2 separate regions of the Homo sapiens genome follow, and region 1 is linked to region 2. The links are contacts of gene promoters, found by promoter capture Hi-C in blood cells and fetal thymus (Javierre and others, 2016). All regions are on one chromosome and are shown on one strand. Each heading gives the region's core, a stretch centred on a gene start or on the middle of the fragment in contact. The rest is flanking DNA. Distances are from core to core; before and after follow the strand shown. Region 1 holds the start of CLC (Charcot-Leyden crystal galectin). Region 2 holds the start of IFNL2 (interferon lambda 2).

Region 1 (2,700 bases), core at 7-2,506, 470 kb after region 2:
TCAAAAAAAAAAAAAAAAAATTACTGCAGGTTTGAAGGCCTGGGCTTCAGTGAACCTCTTGCATATGCCCCCCAGCAGCTGGAACTACGGTATGCAACACCACATTCAATAAATTTTTAAATTTTTGGAAAGATGAAATCTTGCTATGTCTCCCAGGCTGGTCTACCAGTCCTGGCCTGACATGGGCCTTTCAATTCGGCCACCCAAAGTGCTGAGACTACAGGCCTCAGCAAACATCTTGATGAATATCCACTGTAAGCTCTGCCTTGTACCTTCCTGGTTTTGGGTGATTCAGTCTCTTAAATCAAGTCCCTCAATGTCCTTCTCTAGCATCCTGGCACTCAATGGGAAGGCCAGGCTAGGGTAGGAGACAGGGAGAGACCTGAGGCTGGAGGCAGGAGCCAGTGGTCACTGTGTGCAGATTCCACCTAAGGAACCATCAGCCCCATCGTCTGTTTCTCACCCCCATTCTGCTTGGGAAAAGGCACCTGAGAATTCATGCATTCTGCTCTCATAAATGCTCAGAGATAAGTCCTCGGTAACTCAAGGGCCCCAAGATCCCACAAGTTCTGTCACCGGGGATCCACAGTGATGCACAAGGGAAGTTAGACAGAGTACTGCTATGTGGGGAGGAACCTTCACATGCACAGAAGGCCACATGCATGTTCCCAGTTCAACACCCAGTCACATTCCAGCACACACACTCACAGTCACACAGAGCCGTGCCACTCACTGAGTCACACACACCTGCTCACTGTGCATATAAAGATGCTCATGCACTGGTCCGGCTGTGCTCACACACACACTCACATCACAGTCATGAAGACAAAACACAGTCACCTGATTACAATCACTTACACACCCACCCATATCCTGGAGGGCCATACACATCCCGTCTAAAGTCACATCATTTTTAGCAGAGTTTACTCTCATCAGATACCATCACATGCTCACAGAGGGTCACAATGTTCCAGCATCCACACCCCCTACCCCCCTACCCCAGGAGCATCTCAGATACCATAGCCCTAGGGTCTCTCTTCCACACACCCACAACTCTCAGTAAAGCATTCACAGTAGAAATTTTCATATTTTCATCCCATAAAATCTCCCTCTTCCCTTTTCTGTGTGACCTGAGATTATTGAAGGCTGTGCCTTTTTAACTCACGGGTAGCAGGGACATTGTTGTCTCCTTCTGGGTGGCTCTTCTGAATTGTGTCCAGACTTCTGTGTGAATCTCTGAGCTGCAGAATTTAAATGGCCCCTATCAGCCCTGCCTCTGGCTTTATTCCTGATTCCAAGCCCCTCCCAGGAAGGTTTCCTCACACAGTGAGAAGGGGTGGGGTGTCAGAAACAGACTCAGTCACAACCACACCTGTTTGGAGGCCTGTGCCTGTGATGCAGCAGAAACGACAGTGAGGGAGGTACTGGAGGAGGAAGGGGTCACCAGGGAAATGCACAGATAAAGACGATGGAGTGAGGATGAGTGGTGTGAGTTCCAGCCTCCATGCTTCTCATGAAGCCTTTTCTCCACTGTGCAGAATCTACCAGGAAGGTGTGCGTTCTCCTAACCTGTGCAATGGTAAAAAGCTGGAGATCCTGGGGGCAAGGCACTTGGCTTTGAAAGAAAATCCTCCTCCTCCTTCTCCAGTGGTTCTGGGAGAGCATAGATCTTGATCATTCGCAGGACCTGGGGACAGAAGTAGAGAAAACACTTGTGTCTTCTTTACCCACCCTCAGATCCCTTGGCTCTGCCAGGTGAGAGCCACTCCCACTCTGTCTCTCAGACACCTGGGCTTTAGGTACGCCCTCTTATTTCCCTATTTCTTTTCATGTGAATCAAAATCTGAGGCTGTCGTTCTCCTGCAGATTCTTGGAGAAAGGTGAGATTTCTCACTCATAAGTGGGAGCTAAGCGATGAGGATGCATTAGCATTAATATTAGTTGTGCTTGACCCGACAATAAATTCCACTTTCCCTGATCTAAAACCTTGACAATTCATTTCCAAGCATGCACTCCAAGATTCTGCTCATATAAATCAGCACAATCACACAGTTCTTTTGGTATATAACGTATTTCCTTAAGATTAATTTGTAATGTCATCCCACTGCATTCCTTGGGTTTTGACTCTGGGTATGGACATGGAAGCAATGAAAAGGGTCAGAGGCCACAATTAAGGAGCTTTGGAAACCCCGTTCTAGGCAACCACCCTCACACCCTGCCCAGAACTGTAGCTTGTAAGAAATTACCACAGAAGGGAAAGAGGAACTGCTTTTCCTTGCAACAGATATGCAATAGAATTTTGAGTAATATCCCAGCTATTCATCTGAACTGGGGAAGAAATATCAGTTCAGGGCGTCTGGCCACCTAGTAAGCTGTGGATAAAGATGTTGATGTTATTTACTTCTCAGGCATTCCAGCAATCCTTTCAGTGATGCAGAGAGATTGATCTTCTTTAACTTCCATATCCTCTGCACAATAGCCCATACTTCTGCTGGTTGCAACTATTTCTTCAGAAATCCATTATGCCCTACGACTTGCTTTCAGTCTTTCTTTTCAACTACATCTTTCCAAGCACACACTGTTCCCCCGAAAAACTTTAGGTTTTGTGTATGAAATTATATAATATCTGGGATTTGCTCTAAAATAATCTGGGGATGACAGTTCTCTCCTTTTGCAAACATTTGAAATTTTTTACAGTAC
Region 2 (2,837 bases), core at 92-2,591:
GGATCATGAGGTCAGGAGTTCAAGACTAGCCTGGCCAGCATGGTGAAACCCTGTCTCTACTAAAAATACAGAAATTAGCTGGGCATGGTGGCACATGCCTGTAATCCAAGCTACTCAAGAGGCTGAGGCAGGAGAATCACTTGAACCCAGGAGGCAGAGGTTGCAGTGAGCTGAGATGGTGCCTCTGCACTCCAGCCTGGGCAACAGAGCGAGACTCCATCTCTCTTGCTCACTCACTCTCTCTCATGCTCTCTCTCTCTCTCTCTCTCTCTCTCTCTCTCTATATATATATATATATATATATATACACACACATATATGCCTCTGGCCGGGCGCGGTGGCTCACGCCTATAATCCCAGAACTTTGGGAGGCCGAAGAAGGCAGATCACGAGGTCAGGAGTTCAAGACCAACCTGGCCAATATGGCAAAACCCCGTCTCTACTAAAAATACAAAAATTAGTTGGGCGTGGTGGTGCATGCCTATAGTCCTTTCTACTCGGGAGGCTGAAGCAGAAGAATCCCTTGAACCAAGGAGGTGGAGGTTGCAGTGAGTCGAGATCACGCTGCTGCACTCCAGCCTGGGCTACAGAGCAAGACTCCATCTCAAAAAAAAAAGAAAAAAGAAAGAAAGAAAGAAATCATGGCCTCTGGGCACAGTGGCTCATGCCTGCAACCCCAGCAATTTGGGAGGCCAAGACAGACAGATCACTTGACGTCAAGAGTTCGAGACCAGCCTGGCCAATTGGTGAACTGTCATCTCTACTAAAACCATAAAAATTAGCTGGGAATGGTGGCACAAATCTGTAATCTCAGCTACTTGGGAGGCTAAGGCAAGAGAATCGCTTGAACCCAGGAGGTGGAGGTTGCAGTTAGTCAAGATTTTGCACTGCACTCCAGCCTGGGTGACCGAACAAGACCCTGTCTCAAAATATATATATATATATATGCCAGGAGGGGTGGCTCAGGCCTGTAATCTCAGCACTTTAATAGGCTGGGTGAGGAGGATGGCTTGAGCCCAGGAGTTTGAGGCTGCAGTGAGCTGTGATCATGCCATTGCACTCCAGTGACAGAGTGAGACCCTGTCTTAAACAACAACAAAACCAGAGCAGGTGGAATCCTCCTGGGAACATACCTTCCTGTAGGTTACCCCTGAGTCTCCATCAGTTTCTCTTTCCCTCCAGCTGCTCATCTGGCTCACTAGCCCTGCCCTGCTCTGGGCTTTCCCAGCCTGGGGCTCCCCTGGTGGCCGGTGTCTTACCTGAGGCTGTGTTTTCACTTTTCCTACATCAGCTGGGACTGCCCTTCTGTCAGGGATAAAAGCTGCCCCATGGAGCTCAGGCAGGAATTACATCCCAGACAGAGCTCAAAACTGACAGAAAGAGTCAAAGCCAGGACACAGTCTGAGATCCAGAAGAGGGGACTGAAAAGAACAGAGACTCCAGACAAGACCCAAACAGACCCTGGGTGACAGCCTCAGAGTGTTTCTTCTGCTGACAAAGACCAGAGATCAGGAATGAAACTAGGTGAGTCCCACATCTCTGTCCGTGCTCAGCTCCTGCAGCCCCTGCCCTCAGTGGGCAGCCTCTCCATCCCCTCAGCTCCCTTTCTCTCTGTGACACAGACATGACTGGGGACTGCACGCCAGTGCTGGTGCTGATGGCCGCAGTGCTGACCGTGACTGGAGCAGTTCCTGTCGCCAGGCTCCACGGGGCTCTCCCGGATGCAAGGGGCTGCCACATAGCCCAGTTCAAGTCCCTGTCTCCACAGGAGCTGCAGGCCTTTAAGAGGGCCAAAGATGCCTTAGTGAGTCTCCCCCTGCCCTCCTGCCATGGACTAGCCTCCACCCCCACTCCAAGCGTCACCATGCTTTCCCACTCCCAGCTTCCTTCACTGGGCTAGCCTCCACCCTCCCTGCAGTGGGCTATCTCATGCTCCTACTGTAGGGACTGACTCATGTTTTCCTGTAGAAGAGGGTCCTCTACCATCCTCCCAGCAGTTAACCTCCCCTATCCTGTTGTCAGCCATCCTCCAATCCCACCAGGATGGTCTAACCTCCACCCCTCCTGCTGGGGCTAACCTGTGCCTTTGCTGTCTAGGAAGAGTCGCTTCTGCTGAAGGACTGCAGGTGCCACTCCCGCCTCTTCCCCAGGACCTGGGACCTGAGGCAGCTGCAGGTGAGAGGGGGAGTCAGGCCCACCCCTGCTCTCCCAGCCCCACTCACCTGGCTCTGTAGTGGCCCCTTCACCGTCTCTTTCTCCCTTGTCTCTCTCTCTTCTCCTCACACCTGCTCTCCCTTCCCTCCGCTCCCACCTGACCACACTGGCTGTGCCCTCTCCCCTGTGCCTGTCACCTTCACTTGTTCCTCTCTATCCTGCTCCCCAACCTGTTCCCCTCACCTCCCCCCTCACCTGCTCTTTCTCACCTCTCCTCAGGTGAGGGAGCGCCCCATGGCTTTGGAGGCTGAGCTGGCCCTGACGCTGAAGGTTCTGGAGGCCACCGCTGACACTGACCCAGCCCTGGTGGACGTCTTGGACCAGCCCCTTCACACCCTGCACCATATCCTCTCCCAGTTCCGGGCCTGTGTGAGTCGTTGGGGCCTGGGCACCCAGGTCTGTGAGCTCTGAGCAGCGTCCTTCCCCTTGCCAAGGCCCCGGCTCACACACCGCCCTCCTCTGCCCACAGATCCAGCCTCAGCCCACGGCAGGGCCCAGGACCCGGGGCCGCCTCCACCATTGGCTGTACCGGCTCCAGGAGGCCCCAAAAAAGGTGAGTGACCCGGGAAGAGAGGGACTGAGGTCTGGGGAGCCACTGGGAGCCCAGAACCCAGACAGCCCCT

What was found. Contacts are between HindIII fragments. The CHiCAGO score rates a contact against its expected background, and 5 or more counts as called.
Region 1: a contact is called between the fragment with the promoter of CLC here and the fragment with the promoter of IFNL2 in region 2, in 6 of 17 cell types (total B cells, M0 macrophages, naive CD8 T cells and 3 more). The highest score is 15.7, in total B cells.

What each region holds. Positions count from the first base shown.
Region 1 is chr19:39,736,773-39,739,472 of GRCh38, forward strand. It overlaps CLC (Charcot-Leyden crystal galectin), which reads right to left and starts at 1,257. Exons shown (of 4, transcript NM_001828.6): 1 at 1,166-1,257. The coding sequence starts at 1,180. The HindIII fragment of the contact is 8,050 bases long and covers 1-2,700 here.
Region 2 is chr19:39,267,055-39,269,891 of GRCh38, forward strand. It overlaps IFNL2 (interferon lambda 2), which reads left to right and starts at 1,342. Exons shown (of 6, transcript NM_172138.2): 1 at 1,342-1,524; 2 at 1,623-1,804; 3 at 2,098-2,175; 4 at 2,434-2,583; 5 at 2,684-2,767. The coding sequence starts at 1,515. The HindIII fragment of the contact is 23,103 bases long and covers 1-2,837 here.